3 separate regions of the Homo sapiens genome follow, and regions 1 and 3 are each linked to region 2. Evidence: promoter capture Hi-C in human tissues and cell types (Jung and others, 2019). All regions are on one chromosome and are shown on one strand. The core of a region is centred on a gene start or on the middle of the fragment in contact, and the rest is flanking DNA. Distances in the headings are between cores, read along the strand shown. Region 1 overlaps KLHL15 (kelch like family member 15). Region 2 holds the start of EIF2S3 (eukaryotic translation initiation factor 2 subunit gamma). Region 3 holds the start of LOC124905261 (a long non-coding RNA gene).

Region 1 (2,700 bases), core at 158-2,657, 59 kb after region 2:
AAGGGTTGAAGGGATAGAGAACTTTACCAAATTGTGCTAAAACTCTCTTGCCCTGAGGGCACCTCTCCCTCACCCCTATTTACCCTGGTCACTTTACTTCTGAAGTTCACTTCTGAAGTTCAGTTCATTTTTGACTTTGCCTGCTTGGAGAGAAGAGGGTGAGTAAATTCTTACTACGATTTATCTTTATTTACCATTTGGTATTGACTATAAATACAGTATGACTGAAAGGATTTATGCTTAGCATGAACTGATTTTTCATAGCTTTATCCTTGGTCATTAACTCAGTTTTTCAGGACAAAGGGATTGATTAAAGGCATATTGCACCTAGCTTTTTTTGTGATGATTTTGTTTTACGTAAATCAATATAAGCTTTAGTTCTGAGCAAGATTTTACAAATAAAGACTTCTCATACCAGGGTACATAGTTTTGCAATATAGCATCTAAAGACTGCTCCATGTTTTACTGAGAATCAAAATTATATCAAATGTAGCTGATACAGGGTTTTTTTGTTTTGTTTTGTTTTTTGAGATGGAGTCTCGCTCTGTCATCCAAGCTGGAGTGCAGCGGTGCGATCTCGGCTCACTGCAACCTCTGCCTCCCGGGATCAAGCGATTCTCCTACCTCAGCCTCCTGAGTAGCTGGAATTACAGGTGCCCCCCACCACGCCCAGCTAATTTTTGTATTTTTAGTAGAGACAGGGTTTCGCCATGTTTGCCAGGCTAGTCTCGAACTCCTGACCTCATGATCCGCTCGCCTGGCCTCCCAAAGTGTTGGGATTACAGGCGTGAGCCACCACGCCCGGCCTGATATGGTTTGTTTCAGCATTAAAGCACCACGATAGTAACTACTTGGGAAGATTGCATCATGGTGGAGAAGAGATGATAAAACTGACAACCAAGACTCAGTCTTGATACCTCCTTGTACTTGTCATTCGAGCGATTAGGTTAGCATTTTTTGGATGTAGAAAGGGCCAGAGAGGTGCCTGTTCACACAGGTAACCTCTTTAATAGGGCCAGGCACCATCTTAAGTTCAGGAATTGCTCCCCCACTTCCACCCCTTCTGATAGATAAACTAATAAAAGGTATTTTGTTTCTTTGATTTAATATAAGCATATTGGATATTTTAAAAATTATTTCGTGGCTGGGTGTGGTGGCTCATGCCTGTAATCCCAGCACTTTGGGAGGCCAAGGCAGGCAGATCACCTGAGGTTAGGAGTTCGAGACCAGCCTTGCTAACATGGTGAAACCCCATTTCTACTAAAAATACAAAAAATTAGCCGGGCATGGTGGCATGTGCCTGTAATCCCAGCTACTCGGGAGACAGGCAGGAGAATCACTTGAACCCAGGAGGTGGAGGTTGCAGTGAGCCAAGATCGCACCATTGTACTCCAGCTTGGGCAACAAGTGAAATCCGTCTCAATTTTTTTTTTCTTTCAAAAAGTGTATCTTAAATTGGCTGGCTAGGCTGGGCACGGTGGCTCATGCCTGTAATCCCAGTACTTCGGAAGGCTGAGGCAGGCAGATCATGATGTCACGAGTTCAAGACCAGCCTGGCCACATGGTATTCAGATTCTTAAGTTTTAAAGGTAATTTGTATATACCGTCTTTAATTTTGAGAGAATTAAAATGTAACTTGCAATATAATTAAAATAGGGATTTCCACAGAGTTTACTACCTTTATTTGATTAAAAAATCTGGAATTAAAAAAAAATGTACTCTAACTGGCTACAGTCTAGAATTATTTTAGGCTTTTAGCCAGCCTTTTTTTTTTTTTTTTTTTTGAGACAGAGTCTCGCTCTGTTGCCCAGGCTGGAGTGCAGTGGCGTGATCTTGGCTCACCACAACCTCCACCTTCCGGGTTCAAGCAATTCTCCTGCCTCAGCCTCCCGAGTAACTGGGACTACAGGCGCACACCAACATGCCCGGATAATTTTTGTATTTTTATTAGAGACTGGGTTTCACTATGATATAACATTTTGACAGTGAATGGAGAAACATGAAATATTTGCCCAGCTGTAATGGCTAGTTATTTCTCCAACTTTATATATTTGTGTGTGTGTATATATGCGTGTGTGTGTGTATGTGTATACATATTTACAGGAACTGTATTCAAAGTTAATCATTTCTCATACTTCATTGTCAGCTATATCATACATGCACACACAATTAAAGTAAAAGATGTTTAGAGGAAATGGACAATTTACATTTTCAGGCTGGGCAAGGTGGCTCATGCTGGTAATCCCAGCACTTTGGGAGGCCGAGGTGGGAAGATCACTTCAGCTCAGGATTTTAAGGCCAGACTGGGTAATATAGTGAGACCCAATCTCTATTTTATTAAATAATCAGTAAATTAAAAAAATTTTTTTTCAGACCACTGAAATTATATATAATTATATGATATATTCAGAATAAGACAAAATGCTTTTCATTATACAGTTTTTTAAAGTATCAAAGCAAGAAAAGTAGTAACATTCTTTCCAAGCTTTAAAACATGACAGCTGTTTAATCCTGTGAAAGGCAAAGGAAAGTAATTCAGAACATGAAAGAAATGTCGTTCTTTCCATACCTCTTTGAGAGTACCTGATACACAGATAAACTGTTATGTGAGAAATGAAGGATGGGAGAAGTGCCTTCTCTATGAAAAGATGAGCCACATACTGTTCTGCAGTTTTCTTATTTAACATTTTGAATATCTGT
Region 2 (2,727 bases), core at 136-2,635:
ATTTTTAATGCAGGGGCAGTAGTTCAAGGCCTGTAGGCTTATTTGGGCTTTGTTTGCATTAATAAATTAAAGCTCCAGACTGTAATACTGTAACTTTAATAGCCTCATGGTGGAGTCTTACTTTTTAACTAGGTTAAAAACTAGTCTTACTTTTTAACTTACTTCTGTACTTTTTAACTTACTTTCGTACAAACTGTGCTGTTTGTACAAACTCAAAATGTCCAAAATTTACACTCAGTCAACGTAACTTCTCCTCTAAAGTTCTAGGTGCCAATTAAGAAAAAAAACCTTCTATTTAATCACAGCTTGTACATCAAATAAAACTTTCATAAATTCTGCCCTTGAAATAATCCTGTGTGTCAAGTACAGCCACATTTTTCACCTCTTCCTTAAACTTCTGCTACATATGACTACATACTGCCTTATGCTATTAAACTTTTCTTATGTCTCCATTTTTTCTTCTTACCGAGTCTGTAAGCTACATGTGGGCAGCATTCTTTGTGCTCCCCCTGCACCGCAAATGTAGCAGATGCTTTATTCACAAGGACTCAGTATCTATTTCTTGAATATCTGAATCCTCATACTATTCAAGTAATCACACAAAAAGTGAGGTTAAAATTAATTGTTGGAGACCAAGGTTAGGTCTCTTAAGTTACTCTTACCTATGTTAATTGTGGCTTGTCTGCTGATAACTTCGTGTGAAAGTGGCGTCAACTTGGTAACATCCTGCAATGAAATATATTTTAAAACACTGCACGTAAAACAAATGAGAACTTTTCCTTTGACTTTACGTTTGCTATCTACATCTTGCCACCATCTGCACAGCTTTCCACTACTTCTAAAGCTCCTTTTCCCTATCAGTAACTTTGTACTCCTATGGCTGGGAAGCTGTTAAGAGCCCTTCATCATTACACAACAGACTACACCTCCACTCAACTATTAGGGGATATCTGGAAGTCAGAGATCCCCCCAATCTTGGGAACATTAGCACTAAAAGTAATGCAGACAGGACACCCCCTTCCCAGACGTTCAGAGGCTGAAACCATGACAATCAACATCAAGACTTTCCAGCCGAACCCTCCAGAAGCTAGAAGTCCCACGACCGTACACGCCTGCGCCCAGATCGTGGACTGGCCTGGGTACAGGCGGCGCGAGCATGGCTTAGGGCGCCCAGTTCCAGGTCTCCCTCCTGACCCAGGCTCCTGACCCATGCTCCCGACACTGACTAGTCCCAATACCACCGGGAGGCTCGGTCACCTCCACTCCTGAGCTCACTCTGCATCCTCCCCAAGCAAAACCTCACCAAGGTGGTGAGATCCTGACGCGAAAGATGCGGCTGCCCTAGAGTCACTCCAGCTTCTCCGCCCGCCATGTTGCCAAAAGAGGAAGGAAATCACCCCGGCTGCCGCCTGATCATCTGCAGGGGTCCTAGTGCGGGGCGGGGAAGCGGAGACGGGAAGGCCGAGTAGGGGCTCAGGATGGCCGGTGCAGCAGCGGCCTCACTGCTTGGACATCTCTCCGCTTGAATCTGCACAGTGCCTGTCGGTAGGCTGAGTGGAAAACACGGTGCGAAGTTGCTGGAGCTATTCGTCGCAGACCTGGTAGATATTTGTGCAGGCAATACTGAGGGCAGCCACCAAACCCCCGCCCCGCCGGCCCGTGCGAGGCGGGTGATGCAACCCGGCGCGCGCGCTGGCCTGGGAGAGACCATTTCCGTTTCCTGTGGAGTTTCCCGAAACCTGGGAATCAGCTAGGGTGTGGGAACAGAGAAGAGGGAGTGTCCTCCCCGCCCTTTTTTTTTTTTTTTTTTGAATACCGATTTCTGTAATTTAATAAAGCGAGATCGGCTCGGGGTCGGCGCCCACCTATGACGGGGCTCTTGGCTGGGAGAAGGCCGCGTGCTGAGCCCCGGCGGGAGGTGGGGCGGGCGCCCCCGCGCGGAAGTTTGGTGAAGGGCTCAGAGGGGCAGGGCTAGCAAAATCAAAGTCCCCAGCTTGTTCCCAGAGAGCGATTTCTAGGGCCCGGGAGGTGGGCCTTGGTGACGTTAGATTGCGTTCCCAGTGAATATAGCTAGGTGTCGTAAGAGCGTCTGAAGTTCGCTGGTTTGTGTGTGTGTGTTTTGTTTTTTTTTTTCTTAAAGAAGCAGATCCAAAAAAACCTCGATTACCGATAAATCGGTATTTTAAAATTTAAAGAATTTTGAGACCTTAACCCACTTTTCGTCGTGTTGAAAAGCAGTTGAGTGATTTGTTTTTCTCCTTGCATTTCTATACAAATTTTATCATAAACAGCTATTTCCTTTTTTGTTTGCAATAAATTTATTTCCATAAAAACTTGTTAGACAGCTATTATGCAAAAGTATAGTAAAGAGAAGTGAAAAGATAATATGAAAGCCACAATGACGAATACTGAGAAGCCAAGCTCACTTTAGAATACTTGTAAGTAGTCATCAAGTTAGCTTATTTAGGAAATAAATATTATGAGGCCGGGCGCGGTGGCTCACGCCTGTAATCCCAGCACTTTGGGAGGCTGAGGCGGGTGGATCACGAGGTCAGGAATTCGAGACCAGCCTGGCCAATATGGTGAAACTCCGTCTCTACTAAAAATACAAAAAAAAAAAAAAATTAGCCGCCCGTGGTGGCGGGCGCCTGTAGTCCCAGCTACTCCGGAGGCTGAGGCAGGAGAATGGCGTGAACCCGGAAGGCGGAGCTTGCCGTGAGCTGAGAT
Region 3 (2,831 bases), core at 290-2,789, 33 kb before region 2:
TAAAAATACAAAAATTAGCCAGGCACGGTGGTGGGGGCCTGTAATCCCAGCTACCCGGGAGACTGAGGCAGGAGAATTGCTTGAACCCGGGAGGCAGAGGTTGCAGTGAGCCAAGATTGCACCACAGCACTCCAGCTTGGGCAACAGAGCAAGCCTCTGTCTTGGGAAAAAAATAAAGAAATAAATTTCATGGCCTGGAGCGGTGACTCATGCCTGTAATCCCAGCACTTTGGAGGCTGAGGTGGGCAGATCACCTGAGGTCAAGAGTTTGAGACCAGCCTGGCCAACCTGGTGAAACCCGTCTCTACTAAAAGACATCCCATGTTTATGAATTAGAAGAATCAATATTGTCAAGATGGTACTTCCCTCCAAACTGGATCTAGAAATTTAGTGTGATCCCTAACAAAATTCCAGAAGGTTTGGGTTTTTTTTGTTGGGGGGGGGGGGATTTGACAAGCAGATCCTAAAAGTTATATGGGAATTCAAAGGATTTCAAATAGCCAAAACAGTTCTGAACAAAAAAAGAAGACAAAGCTGAAGGATTTACGTTACCCAATTCCAATTTCAAAACTCCCTGTAAAGTCACAATAATCAAGACAGTGTGGCATATAGATCAATAGAGTAGAATTAAAGAAATTAACTTTTATACTTATGTCAACTGATTTTCAATAAAGATGCCAAGATAATCCAGTGGGGAAAGAATAATCTTTTCAACAAATGCTTTGGGAGAATTAGACATCCATTTAAAAATAAAATTAGGCTGGGTGTGATGGCTCATACCTGTAATCCCAGCAGTTTGAGAGGCTGAGACGAGAGGATCACTTGAGGCCAGGAGTTTGAGATTAGCCTGAGCAACATAGTGAGACCACATCTCTACAAAATAAAACAAAATAAATAAAAATTTAAAAATGAACGTAGACCTTTACCCCACACCATTGAAAAATTAACTTACAATAGAACCAAAACTATAAAACTTCCAGAAGTTATATGCTAAGAAGCACATGAAAAGTGCTCAACATCATTAGTCATTAGGAAAATGCAAATTTAAACCACAACAAGATACCACTATATACCCACTAAAATGGTTATACAGGGCTGGGCGTGGTGGCTTACGCCTGTAATCCCAGCACTTTGGGAGGCCGAGGTGGGCAGATCACGAGGTCAGGAGATCGAGACCATCCTGGCTAACACGGTGAAACCCTGTTTCTACTAAAAATACAAAAAATTAGCCGGACGTGGTGGCAGGCACCTGTAATCCCAGCTACTCAGGAGGCTGAGGCAGGAGAATCGCTTGAACCAGGGAGGCAGAGGTTGCAGTGAGCCAAGATCGTGCCACTGCACTCCAGCCTAGGTGACAGAGCGAGACTCAGTCGCAAAAAAAAAAAAAAGGGTTATACAGGCCTGGCATGGTGGCTCACACCTGTAATCCCAGCACTTTGGGAGGCCAAGGCAGGCGGATCACTTGAGGTCAGGAGTTCGAGACCAGCCTGGCCAACATGGTGAAATCCCGTCTCTACTAAAAATACAAAAATTAGCCAGGCGGGGTGGCAGGCGACTGTAATCCCAGCTACTCCAGAGGCTGAAGCAGAATTGCTTGAACCCAGGAGGCGGAGGTAGCAGTGACCCGAGATTGTGCCACTGCACCCCAACACGGGCAACACAGTGAGACCCTGTCTCAAAAAAAAGGGGGGGTTATACAGTAATCCCCCCTTATCTCCAAGGTTTCAGTTACCTGTGGTAAACCAGTCTGAAAATATTAAATTGAAAATTCCAGAAATAAGCAATTCATAAATTTTGAATTGTGTGCTGTTCTGAATAGCATGATAAAATATCATGCCATCTCACTCTGTCTTGCCTAGGGTGTGAACCATCCCCTTGCGCAGCATATCCATGCTGTACATACTATCTGTGCGTTAATCACCTAGTAGCCATCTTGGTTATCAGATCAAAAAATATAGTATATATAGGATTTGGTACTAGCTACTGTTTCAGGGATTCACTGAGGGTCTTGGGATATATGCCCTGCAGGTAAGGGGGGGCAACTGTAATAAAAAAAATTACCAAGTATTAGAGAGGATATTGAGAAACTGGAACCCTGCTCTATTGTTGATAGGAATATAAAATGGCACAGCCTGGCTGGGCATGGTAACTCATGCCTGTAATCCCAGCACTTTGGGAGGCTGAGGTGGGTGGATCATTTGAGGTCAGGAGTTTGAGACCAGCTTGGCCAACACGGTGAAACCCCGCCTCTGCTAAAAATACAAAAATTCGCTGGGCATGGTGGCGGACACCTGTAGTCCCAGCTACTCAGGAGGCTGAGGCAGGAGAATCGCTTGAACCCGGGAGGCAGAGTTTGCAGTAAGCCAAGATCATGCCACTGCACTGCAGCCTGGGTGACAGAACAAGACTCCGTCCCAAATAAAATAAAATAAAATAAAATAGCACAGCCACTTTGCAAACATTTAGCAGTTTCTAAGTTTAACATAGACTTACCACACAACCCAACATTTCACTCCTAGGAATCTACTTAAAGCAATTAAAACATACAGCCGAGCACAGTGGCTCATGCCTGTAATCCCAGCACTTTGGGAGGCCAAGGCAGGCAGATCACCTGAGGTCGGAAGTCCAAGACCAACCTGGCCAGCATGGTGAAACTTCGTCTCTACTAAAAATACAGAAATTTGTTGGGCATGGTGGCATATGTCCGTAATCCCAGCTACTTGGGAGGCTGAGGCAGGAGAATCACTTGAACCCGGGAGGCGGAGGTTGCAGTGAGCCAATATCGCACCACTGCACTCCAGCCCAGGTGACAGAGTCAGACTGTCTCAAAA

Evidence for each region. The method cuts DNA at HindIII sites, captures the fragments that hold promoters and counts their contacts. A contact is called where the count stands out against the background at its distance.
Region 1: a fragment that was not itself captured here is called in contact with the fragment with the promoter of EIF2S3 in region 2 in 3 of the 25 tissues and cell types used here (liver, mesendoderm cells and ovary).
Region 3: a fragment that was not itself captured here is called in contact with the fragment with the promoter of EIF2S3 in region 2 in 1 of the 25 tissues and cell types used here (ovary).

What each region holds. Positions count from the first base shown.
Region 1 is chrX:23,994,491-23,997,190 of GRCh38, reverse strand. The region is part of intron 3 of KLHL15 (kelch like family member 15); the gene reads left to right. Among named protein-coding and RNA genes, the nearest start is that of KLHL15, 31 kb to the left of the region's middle. The HindIII fragment of the contact is 5,387 bases long and covers 1-2,700 here.
Region 2 is chrX:24,053,614-24,056,340 of GRCh38, reverse strand. It overlaps EIF2S3 (eukaryotic translation initiation factor 2 subunit gamma), which reads right to left and starts at 1,385. Exons shown (of 12, transcript NM_001415.4): 1 at 1,304-1,385; 2 at 663-726. The coding sequence starts at 1,372. RefSeq lists enhancers at 1,127-1,196, 1,217-1,766 and a silencer at 1,827-2,036. The HindIII fragment of the contact is 10,457 bases long and covers 1-2,727 here.
Region 3 is chrX:24,086,574-24,089,404 of GRCh38, reverse strand. It overlaps LOC124905261 (a long non-coding RNA gene), which reads right to left and starts at 1,159. Exons shown (of 2, transcript XR_007068415.1): 1 at 781-1,159. The HindIII fragment of the contact is 6,471 bases long and covers 1-2,831 here.